Linked DNA regions of Homo sapiens: region 2 is linked to region 1. Evidence: promoter capture Hi-C in human tissues and cell types (Jung and others, 2019). All regions are on one chromosome and are shown on one strand. Each heading gives the region's core, a stretch centred on a gene start or on the middle of the fragment in contact. The rest is flanking DNA. Distances are from core to core; before and after follow the strand shown. Region 1 holds the start of BRD4 (bromodomain containing 4). Region 2 overlaps LOC124900418 (collagen alpha-1(I) chain-like).

Region 1 (6,177 bases), core at 3,167-5,666:
AACACGCTAATAATAAAGACTACGCATATTAAAGTCATTATACAAATATCTTTCAGTCTTTCCTTGTACATAGTAAGGGCTCAAGGACTAATTGTAGAGACAGATTGGCCAATCATGCACACATAAAATCAAAATATTTAAAAATGTGTTCAATGTTTAAAAAAAAACTTAACAGGTTTTTATTGACAACATGAGATTCACATTAAGAAATGCTACCCATATGTGTTTATTGCCCACTTCATATCCCTCTTGAAAATACTTTTGGCAGGTCAGGGTTGAACCACAGCGCAAAGCCACTCACCGCACTTCAAACTGCTAAGTGGGAAATGTCCAGTAGTGCATGGAAACACACTGCATGCCAGGCTGCTCGGACTAATAAGTTTACTACAACACCGAGGGACCCCAGCGTTATCTTAGTTGAAACTCACATTCCTTGTAAGTCACTACCGAACAATTATGTCCACGGCTAACAACATTTTTAAAGCGGGATTATTTGCATTTGGCATTACGGCATGCAAAATTCTTGCTCAATTACTTCTCCCGTTTATTCATTGAGACTATTTAAGGTGCTCTTCTAGGCACAAGATACAACAGAATAAAACAGGCAAAGCCAAGCAAACAAAACCCTGCCCTCATCCAACTTACATTCTGGTTTTGTTTTTTGTTTTGGGACGGAGTTTCGCTCTTATTGACCAGACTGGAGTGCAATGGCATGACCTTGGCTCACCGCAACCTCCGCCTCCCGGGTTCAAGCGATTCTCCTGCCTCAGCCTCCCGAGTAGCTGGGATTACAGGCATGCGCCACTATGCCCGGCTAATTTTGTATTTTTAATAGAGACGTGGTTTCTCCATGTTTGTCAGGCTGGTGTCGAACTTTTGACCCCAGGTGATCTGCCCGCCTCGGCCTCTCAAAGTGCTGGGATCACAGGCGTGAGCCACCACGCCCGGCGCATTCTGCTTTTTTTTTTTTTAAGTTAACAAGGAAATTTTATCTTTCCAAACTCATCTCTTATGTATTAAATGTCAGCACCAGCAAGGAATTCCCCACAATTCTCACCTCGCAAATGTACACTCTTTTCTAGACACCAAAAATCACAAAGATTTATGAAACATTAGGAGCTCCAATGACAAGCTTATCTTTCCTTTTTACAGATTTGCCAGGAACATAAAGACAAACATGGTCTACTCTACAAGTTTATTCAAAATCAGAAACCAAAACATTTTACATTCACAAAATACAACACACTATACAGTAGGTTGTCAGAAGCAGATTTAACAGCCCAGGGTCTTCAAATCACTGAGGTGCCAAATGGTTTTTTGCTTTAAAAACAAAACAGGCCGGGCGCAGTGGCTCATGCCTGTAAACCCAGTACTTTGGGAGGCCGAGGCTGGCGGATCACGAGATCAGGAGATCGAGACCATACTGGCCAATATGATGAAACCCCGTCTCTACTAAAAATACAAAAATTAGCTGGGCGTGGCGGCGCGTGCCTGTAATCCCAGCTACTCGGGAGGCTGAGGCAGGAGACTCGCTTGAACCCAGGAGGCAGAGGTTGCAGTGAGCCGAGATCGCACCACTGCACTCCAGCCTGTCGACTGACTTCAGACTCTCTCAAAAAAATAAAAAATAAAAACAAAACAAAATTCAATCTCTTAAATCTGTAAATCTGAAGTCATTCAATAACCTGAATTGTGAAACAAGAAAATATTGTTACCCCCACCTCCTAAAGCAAAAGTGCAATTTAGTACAAAGATCACAACAACTGGCTCAAAAAGGCAACTTTTAGAAACAAAGTCTAAATTCCTTTAAACAATTCAATAATTTAGTGGAAATGTTACTAAGTGGCCAATGATTCTCGTTATTCTTAGCTAAAAATTTTCCCTCGCTGTCCTCCAGACTAGCGAAGCTAGGCATATAGCACCCCAGAACAGCCAAACAATCCTTAAAACTCAGCAGCTACCTTCTTATCTTTCATCCGTAGGCAAAGTTCCTTATCTTCAGCAATTCCACTGGGCTGACTGCTAGCAAGATACTCGGAGGTGGACTCGACTCCTTCCAATTAAGACCAACTAAAGCCATTCTGAGACCGGCTAACTCCAGTTTGAGCCTTTAAGATACTATGTTTCCTACCAAAGAAAGAGGTATGGTGGATAACAGAGCAGCAATACATTTTGTTTCAGATTAGGCTTTGCCTTCTCCATTTGATCAATGGAAACCCTGAGTGGTTTATCTTTCCCTGGCTGAAGTTTTTGGGGGGAAGCGCTTGGTTATCTACAACGCATCAGTGATAAGATAAAAAGATAAAAAACATAATCCCCACCCAAATTAAACCGAAATAAATGCTTTATGAAATTATTGGCGGCCGGGAACGGTGGCTCATGCCTGTAATCCCAACACTTTGGGAAGCCGAGGAGGATGGAACACCTGAGGTCAGGAGTTCGAGACCAGCCTGGCCAACATGGTGAAACCCGCGTCTCTCCTAAAAATGCAAAAATTAGCTAGATGTGGTGGCGGGCGCCTGTAGTCCCAGCTACTCGAGAGGCTGAGACAGGAGAATCGCTTGAACCCAGGAGGCAGAGGTTGCAGTGAGCCGAGATCGCGCCACTGCACTACAGCCTGGGCGACAGAGCGAGACTCCATCTAAAAGTATATGTATATATTGGCAAGATCATAAAACAGATTGTGCCATCAAAAACTTTCTTGAAATTAAAAACACATTCATAAATCCTTTTGAGTATCGCTTTCTTTACAACTTCCAAAGACGGTAGGGAACTTGACAGCTCCATTCACAAAAAACTCCCGACCATTGTTACAGCCCCAAAGAGCCACTGGCTTACGAGGTAAACTGCGACTTGGTTTTTGGAACCACGGACTGGTAGAGCCCTGTCGAAGGTAAGCAAAGACATTCCAATTCTCGTGAGGCATACATTCCAAGGGGTCACTAGCATCCAACACACACGCAGAGAAATGAACCCAAGACCAGACACCCCACCAGGCTGCACGAAACGTAAACAAGTAAACAAGCAAATAAAAATCTTAAAAAAACAAAGCGTAGTCTTGAGTAAAAGGGAGGTCAGCCACCCAGGAGAAGCACATGACTCATGCACCGGCCTGAACTAAAGTATTTACACCGTCCACTACAACAGAGTGGGGTTTCCCATCTTCAAGCAAACCCAAGCCTTGGGGGCATCTCAGCCGAGTGAAGCCATGCTATTTCCGTTTGGGAGGAGGGGGATCATTTTATTTCGCTGAATCACAACTCCCCCACATCCCCACCCCAAATCACCACAATCACCACCACCACACAACACTGCAAATAAAATAGGCCGTTGCAAGGACGCCGGCGAGCACGGACCGAGCAAAACAAAGCGCCCAGCAAGGGGCTGCCAGGCTGAGAGTGGGTGCGTCAAGCGGGCCAAGCTCGCCTCCAGGGCACCGCTCCCGCCCTGAGGCCTGGCCTCAGACCGGCGTGCAGCCGCAGCCACCTCCCTCCGCAGGGGACCTGCCCCTTTCTCCGCAGCACTCCGGGGACCGCCGGGAAGGTGAAGAGATGGGGGTGGGGGCGCGCTGCCCCGGCCCAGGCAAAACGACCTGGGTGCCAGAAGGAGAGCGCGCCGGCCCCGGCCCACGTGAGCGCCGCGGCCGAGCCCGCCTAGAGGACCGCGGACCGGGACAGCTGCGCTCGCGGCCCCCGCGCCAGGCCGGGACTTACCCGGGCCGGGCGCGCCGCGGACCCCGCGGCGGCCGCTTCCTCCTCCTCCTCCTCCTCCTCACTTAACAAAATGGCGGCGGCAGGAAGTGCCGGGCGCCTCGGCCCGCCCCCCGCCCGCCCCCGACCGCCGGCCCCGCCGCGGCGCCCGCGCCCCCCACCCGCGCCCCGCCGGCCAGCCCAAGCCCGGGTCCGACGGCACCAAAGGCAGGACAGCCGCGAGCGACCCCGCCGCCCCGACACCAACGGCGCAGGCCGCCCCGGCCCGGAACGAACGGCGCGGGAGGCCCGCAGGCCCGAGCCCGCGTAGCCCCGGCCTCCCCGCCCCCGCGCCGCGCGGATGGCGTAGGTGGCGGCGCCCCGGCCCCATTACGCAATGCAGGTTACGCGGACCGCGCCGCGAGCCTCCGCCAGCCGCCCAGTGTCGTCCGCCGCCCCAAAGGGCACCAGTCCTCACCTGAGACGCTAGGCCGCACGCCGCCCCCGCCGGCCGTCCGCCCGCTGCCGCCGCCCCCTCCCCGAGCTGCCTGCGCGGCGCCGGGGCCCGCCCGCCGCTCTGCCGAGCTCACAGGCCGCGCTCGCCCGCGGGCACCGCCGGCAGCCGCCGCAGCCGCTGCCGCCGCCACTGCTTCGGCTCCTCGGCTGCGGGAGACCAGAACAAACAGCCCAGCCGCCGCCGCCGCCGCCGCCGCCGCCGCCAGCGCACTGACGTCACCGCGCACGCTGCGCGCGCGGCCCCGCGCCGCCGCCGCCCGGTGTGCGCGCCCCGCCCCCGCGCCCAGCGCGAACGAGCTCTGGAGAGACAGTGGCTGCGAGGTGAGTGGGGGATACCGCGGACTGAGGGAGGAGACCCCGCAGAGCGAAGGAGCGGGCTGGGGGAAACGGGCGGACTGCAGGCTGGGCCTGCGGGAAAAGATCTGAAGGCTGAGAGAGACATCCAAAATACTAAGAAAGGTCTGAAGACAGACCCTCACAGGGAGGGAGGATGGTGAGGAGGGACCCCACAGACTGATGGAGGAGGCGGAGGAGAGAGCCCTAAGGGGGGACCCCAGGTAGGGAGGCTGAGGCGAGAGAGCTGCGATGGGGGCGCCGGGGCTGGGGTGAAGTGGAGGAAAGGAGGTGAGAGGAGGCTGCGAGCAAGGCCGAGGCGGATCCTCCTTGGCTGCCCCTGGGCAGGGAGGTAGCACCTTTCTCCTCTTATGCCCCCCTGTTGATCTTCTTCCAACCCACCTTTTTAAAAAAAGGGACATGGTCTTGCTCTGTCCCCCAGGCTGGAGTGCAGTAGTGCAGTCATAGCTCACTGCAGCCTCAACCTGCTGGCCTCAAGCGATCCTCCTGCTTCAGCCTCCCAAGTAGCTGGGACTACAGGTGTGCACCACCACACCCAGCTAACTATTTTTTGTAGAGATGGGATCTCACGATGTTGGCCAGGCTGGTCTCTGTCTCCTGGACTCAAGCGATCCTCCTGCCTCGACCTCCCAAAGTGCTAGTATTACAGGCGTGAGCCACCGCGCCCAGCTCCTTCCCATCCTTAAGACTCAACCCCAAGTCAGACCAGGCTCGGTGGCTCACACCTGTAATCTCAGCACTTTGGGAGGCAGAGGCAGGAGGTTGGCTTGAGGCCAGGGGTTGGAGACCATCCTAGCCAACAGAGTGAAACCTCGCCTCTACTAAAAATACAAAAATTAGCCCCGTGTGGGCCGGGCGCAGTGGCTCACGCCTGTAATCCCAGCACTTTGGGAGGCGGGCAGATCACGAGGTAAGGAGATCGAGACCATCCTGGCTAAGACGGTGAAACCCCGTCTCTACTAAAAATACAAAAAATTAGCCGGGTGTGGTGGTGGGCGCCTGTAGTCCCAGCTACTCGAGAGACTGAGGCAGGAGAATGGCGTGAACCCGGGAGGCGGAGCTTGCTGTGAGCGGAGATCGCGCCCCTGCACTCCAGCCTGTGCGACAGAGCGAGACTCCGTCTCAAAAAAAAAAAAAAAAAATTAGCCGGGTGTGGTGGCGCATGCCTGTAATCCCATGCCTGTAATGCCAGCTACTCAGGAGGCTAAGGCAGAAGAATCACTTGAACCCGGGAGGCGTAGGTTGCAGTGAGCCGAGATTGTGCCACTGCACTCTAGCCTGGGCGACAGAGCAAGGCTCTGTCTCCAAAAAAGAAAAAGACTCAACCCTAAGTCAGCTCCAGGACGTATGTGCCTACTCTACATGTGTGAGTCCGAGGGGAAAAAACATCATATGACCTCTTCTAGGGCTTCCAAAGCACCCCACCTGGCCACGGAAGAGCTTAGTAAACATGGGGTAGTTTTGAGATTGCTAAAAGGAGGAAGTTAGGCATATGTCTCTTGTAGCTTAAAATAATACTGTGAAATTTTTCAAACCTGGAAACAACCACTTCTCTTTCCTTTTATATATATATATATTTTTTTTTTTAAGACAAGATCTTGCTCTGTCACCCAGGCTG
Region 2 (5,830 bases), core at 1,413-3,912, 500 kb after region 1:
CAATAGAGAAGAGGCAGCCAAGCAGCAACGTCTTTCAGAGCTGCAATTGCTTGCCTCTGCTGTAAGACAAACCCCAGCCATGCCTTCAGCACACAAAAACTTCAGAGCAACCAAACCACAGCCTCTAGGCACTCCTTTAAAACCATCTCATGGACCTTGCTTCAAGTGCCGCAAAACTGGCCACTGGGCCAAGGAATGCCTGCAGCCCGGGATTCCTCCTAAGCCTGTCCCACCTGTGCGGGACCCCACTGGAAATCGGACTGTCCAACTAATATCACAGCCCCTTCTAGGGTCCCTGGAGCTCTGGCTCAAAGCTCTCTGGCTGACTCCTTCCCAGATCTCCTCGGCTTAGTGGCTGAAGACTGATGCTGCCCGATCGCCTCAGAAGCCCCTTGGACCATCACAGATGCCGAGCTTCGGGTAACTCTTACGGTGGAGGGTAAGTCCATCCCCTTTTTAATCAATACGGGGGCTACCCACCCCACATTACCTTCTTTTCAAGGGCCTGTTTCCTTTGCCCCCGTAACTGCCGTGGGTATTGACGGCCAAGCTTCTAAACCCCTTAAAACTCCCCAACTCTGGTGCCAACTTGGACAACATTCTTTTATGCACTCCTTTTTAGTTAACCCCACCTGCCCAGTTCCCTTATTAGGCTGAGATATTTTAACCACATTATCTGCTTCCCTGACTATTGCTGGGCTACAGCCACACCCCATTGCTGTCCTTTTCCCCAATTCAAGGCCTCTTTCGCATCCTCCCCTTGTATCTCCCCACCTTAATCCTCAAGTATAGGATACTTCTACTCTTTCTTTGGCAACTGACCATGCACTCCTTACCATTCCATTAAAACCTAATCACCCTTACCCTGCTCAATACCAGTATCCCAGCCCGCAGCAGGCTTTAAAGGGAACTGAAGCCTGTTATCACTTGCCTGTTACAACGTGGCCTTTTGAAGCCTACAAATTCTCCTTACAACTCCCCTATCCTACCCATCCAGAAACCGGACAAGTCCTAGAGGCTAGTTCAAGACCTTCACCTCATAAATCAGATTGTCCTTCCCATCCATCCTGTTGTGCCAAACCCTATACTCTCCTCTCCTCGACACCCCCTTCCACAACTCATTATTCTGTTATCCACCTCAAAGATGCCTTCTTTACCATCCCCTTGCATCCCTCCTCCCAACCTCTTTTCACCTTTACTTGGACTGACCCTGACACCCACCAGTCCCAGCAATTCACCTGGATTGTCCGACCCCAAAGTTTCAGGGACAGCCCACACTACTTTGGTCAGGCCCTCTCTCATGACTTTCTTTCTGCCCATCTGCCTCCCACCTTATTCAATATGTTGAAGACCTTCTTCTTTGCAGCCCTTCTTACCAATCTTCCCAGCAGGACACTATCCTATCCTACTTCTTCAATATCTCTACTCAAAGGGGTACTGAGTATCCCCCTCTAAAGCTCATATTTCCTCCCCTAGTGTTACATATCTCGACATAGTCCTCCATCAACATACACGCACTCTTCCTGCAGACTGTGTTCAGTTAATCTCCCAGACCCTATTCCCCACCACCAAACAACAACTCCTTTCCTTCTTAGGCGTTGTTGGATACTTCCGACTCTGGGTACCAAGGTTTTGCCATTCTAACCAAACTGCTTTACAAACTCACTAAAGGTAATTTAGCTGATCCCATAGACCATAAGTCCTTTCCCCATGCTTCCTTTCATTCTCTCAAAAAGGCCCTAGAAACAGCTCCCACACTAGCACTCCCTGACTTGTCCCAACCTTTTTCCTTACACACAGCTGAAACACAAGGCTGTGCTGCTGGAGTTCTCACACAGGAGCCAGGCCCACGACCTATAGCCTTTCTATCCAAACAACTTGACCTCACAATTCTAGGCTGGCCCTCATGTCTACATGTGGTGGCAGCTGCCGCTTTAACACTTCCAGAGTCTCTCAAAATCACAGGCTATGCTCCACTTACCCTCTACAGTTCTCACAACCTTCAAGCATTAATATCCTCCTCACACCTTTCACACTTGCTGTCTGCCCCTCGACATCTCCAGCTCTATTCACTCTTTATTGAAACCCCAACAATAACTACTGCCCATGGGCCCGATTTCAACCCAGCTTCTCACTTAGCACCCAACACAAGTCCTGGCCAACATGATTGTATCTCCCTAATACACATAGCATCTTCCCCCTTTCCTCATATTTCTATTTTTCCAATCCCAAATCCAGACCACACTTGGTTTATTCATGGCAGTTCCTCTAAACCCAGTCAAATCTCGCCAGCTAAAGCTGGTTATGCTGTCGTGTCCCATACCTCTATTATTGAGGCTGCTGCACTTCCTCCCTCCACTACTTCCCAACAAGCCAAACTGATTGCTTTAACTTGTGCACTCTCTGTCGCCAAAGGAATGCACATTAAAATTTATATTGACTCCTAATATGCTTTCCACATCCTCCACAACCATGCTACCCTTTGGACTGAAAGAGGTTTTCTCACCACACAAGGCTCTTCCATTATCAATACCTCTCTAATAAAGGCCCTCCTTAATGCTGCTCTCTTGCTGGCCAAAGCTGGGTTCATTCATTGTAAAGGACACCAGAAACCAACTGATCTTATTGCTAAAGGAAATGCCTACGCCAACAGGACAGCAAAAGAAACAGCAAATGCCTCCACGCCTGCAAATATTCTAGCCCTCACCCCAAAAGGCTAGTACTTTTCTTTCTTCTCTATCACCCCCACCTACTCCTCTTCTAAAAAACCTGCTCTACCAGTCTTTTCCAACTCAGGGCAAGTGGTTCTTAGATCATGGAAAATTCGTTCTTCCTGCCTCACAAGCCCAGTCTACTCTCTCTTCCCTTCATGACCATTTCCATATAGGATATAAGCCTCTGGCTGGCCTCCTACAGCCCCTCATTTCCATCCCATCATGGAAATCCATCCTTAAAACCATCACCTCTCAATGCTCTGTCTGCCATGCCACCAACCCCCGAGGTCTTCTCAGGCCTCCTCCTTTTCCTACGCATCAGGCTCATGGATTTCCTCCGACACAAGATTGGCAAATTGACTTTATTCATATGCCGCGTGTCTGTAAATTTAAATATCTCCTGGTTTGGGCCAATACCTTCACCGGATGGGTCGAGGCCTTTCCCACTAGCTCTGAAAGGCTACTACAGTCATTTCTTCCCTTCTGACAGATATAATCCCCCAATTTGGCCTCCCTACTTCCACAGTTTCTCAGGCTCTTGGTATTCAGTGGAAACTTCATACCCCCTACCGTCCTCAATCTTCAGGAAAGGTAGAACGGATGAATGGTCTTTTAAAAACACACCTCACCAAGCTCAGCCTCCAACTTAAAAAGGACTGGACAGTACTTTTACCACTTGCCCTCCTCAGAATTAGGGCCTGTCCTTGAGAAGCCACAGGGTACAACCCATTTCAATTTTATATGGATGCACCTTCTTACTCAGCCACAATCTTGTTCCAGACACCAGCCCCCTGGGCAACTATCTTCCAGTCCTCTAGCAGGCTAGACAGGAAATTTGCCAAGCTGCTAATCTTCTCTTGCCTACTCCAGATTCCCAGCCATATGAAGACACCCTAGCTGGACGATCAGTCCTTGTCAAAAGTCTGACCCCTCAAACTCTACAGCCTCAATGGACCAGACCCTACCCGGTCATTTATAGCACACCAACTGCCGTCCATCTGCAGGACCCTCTCCATTGGGTTCACCATTCCAGAATAAAGCCATGCCCATCAGACAGCCAGCTTGATCTCTCCTCTTCCTCCTGGAAGCCACAAGATTAGGCCGAGAGCCGATCAGACAAACAACCTACAACCCTTAAGCTCCTGGCAGCGCCCAGCCAAGGCCATGCTTCCTTGCAACACTCCTTCCAAATGGCCATCCCAGCATGCTTCCAAGCAGGCTTCATCCGTTCCTCTGGACCCTCATCTCTTAAGACCTGCCGCCTATAAAAAGGATTATATCTTGAGACCCTATCCTCTAAAATTTTTTCCACACCCAAAACAAAAAATCTCTGGGTCAAAAGTCTAAAACGCTTAGGCTGGCAACCATCAGATCCTTGCCCATGGTGTCCTCAAGCCTACTCTCATGAAATGGACAACAGTACACGCATATGGGGCCAGTTCCACATATTTGGCAACCAGACCAGCATCCAGGACAACACAAAGTATGTTGTTTGTTGTTAGAGGGCTTGGGACATTTCACTCTTTGCCAGCCTCAGCTTAATCCAGGAGACAAAGATTATTTTCCTTATTATCTCTTCTGCATAGGATCTGCAATCAGAACTATTGAACTTCTCCATTCAGACCGCCACTCACACCTATGGGAAAAGGGTAATGTATCATCGGCTTAGCAACAGGGAATACTATTCGTATGATGGAAAATGGGGACAAAAGGCTTTGGTACATAAAACATTATTCCTTCCTTGGCCTAAAAACTCATCGCCACCTACATTAAAGCTAATATGCCTGATTACTGTTTTTAGAGAACTTATTTTATTAGGGCAGTTCCAAGCTCAAAAATACGCTAACTGGCACCTTGTTAGCTACATAAAAATGCACCCTAGACCCGAAACTTACTAGACTCATTATAAAATTTTCTTTAAGGTGTCCACGCAGTCCCTGGTCACACTTGAAGCAGTCCGGAGAAATATCAGCCCTACCCCAGTAATCCCCAGAAGGAACTTACACTTTTTTTTAATCTTTTCCTACAACTTCATATTTTATAAATAAAAAGACAAAAATGTCAGGCCTGTGAGCTGAAGCTTAGCCATTGTAACCCCTGTGACCTGCACATATCCGTCCAGGTGGCCTGCAGGAGCCAAGAAGTCTGGAGCAGCCGAAAAACCACAAAGAAGTGAAACAGCCAGTTCCTGCCTTAACTAATTAACCCACCTTACGACATTCCACCATTATGACTTGTCCACCATTATGACTTGTTCCTGCCCTGCCCCAACTGATCAATCAACCCTGTGACATTCTTCTCCTGGACAATGAGTCCCATCATCTCTCCACCATGCACCTTGTGACCCCCTCCTCTGCTGAGGATAACCACCTTTAACTGTAACTTTCCACGCCTACCCAAGCCCTATAAAGCTGCCCCTCTCCTATCTCCCTTCACTGACTCTCTTTTCGGACTCAGCCCACTTGCACCCAAGTGAATTAACAGCCTTGTTGCTCACACAAAGCCTGATTGGGTGTCTTCTATACGGACACGCGTGACAGGAACCTCAACCCAAAGGCAGTCTGATGAGGTGTCTAAGATAAAAGTAGCGGCACAAAGGCTTTTGTAAACAGAGGCGTTTCATGTGGTTTTCCTTTCCTTTCCTTATATGTGAAAAGGTGACAGAAAAGAAATCTTCCTAAAAGAGTCAGCCACTGCTCTGTGGAACGATGATCATTTAAATGCCACGTCGATTTGAAACGTACAACAAAGGGACTAACAGTTGAGAACCATGTGGATTGCAGTGGAGACGCTGGCGTTAGAGAATGCGGGGAGGGAAACGTTCATTACAAGATTTACGGCCAGCCCAAGGGGGAGCGAGGCTGGGGGACCGGGTCGCGGAGACCCGGCTTCGCACACCTTTTGGAAGACTCAGGGAGAAGCGGGGGCCGCCTTCGGGGGGAAAGGCGGGACTGGGGAGCCCACAGGCCATGGCTCCTCCCACAGGATCCCCAGGCCGGAGGCGGGATCCCCCCATGATCCTCCCGTGGCCCCCGCACAATCTGGGGAGATGCGGAGCTGCCCAGAGAGGGCTCTGGGGCGACAGTCACTGCGCAGGGACAGGACAGGACTCCCGG

Evidence for each region. The method cuts DNA at HindIII sites, captures the fragments that hold promoters and counts their contacts. A contact is called where the count stands out against the background at its distance.
Region 2: a fragment that was not itself captured here is called in contact with the fragment with the promoter of BRD4 in region 1 in 1 of the 25 tissues and cell types used here (dorsolateral prefrontal cortex).

The regions. Positions count from the first base shown.
Region 1 is chr19:15,328,123-15,334,299 of GRCh38, forward strand. BRD4 (bromodomain containing 4) reads right to left here and starts at 4,417. Exons shown (of 20, transcript NM_001379291.1): 1 at 4,168-4,417. It overlaps LOC124904643 (a long non-coding RNA gene), which reads left to right and starts at 4,491. Exons shown (of 4, transcript XR_007067146.1): 1 at 4,491-4,526. RefSeq lists silencers at 3,417-3,466, 3,477-3,626, 3,657-3,756, 3,957-4,186, 4,417-4,516 and 1 more and an enhancer at 4,683-5,299. The HindIII fragment of the contact is 25,776 bases long and covers 61-6,177 here.
Region 2 is chr19:15,830,918-15,836,747 of GRCh38, forward strand. It overlaps LOC124900418 (collagen alpha-1(I) chain-like), which reads left to right. Exons shown (of 3, transcript XM_047439793.1): 2 at 338-439; 3 at 4,301-5,830. The coding sequence starts at 5,485. UCA1 (urothelial cancer associated 1) reads left to right here. Exons shown (of 3, transcript NR_015379.3): 2 at 338-439; 3 at 3,585-5,404. Among named protein-coding and RNA genes, the nearest start is that of UCA1, 4.9 kb to the left of the region's middle. RefSeq lists an enhancer at 4,021-5,220 and a silencer at 5,651-5,830. The HindIII fragment of the contact is 5,632 bases long and covers 1-5,478 here.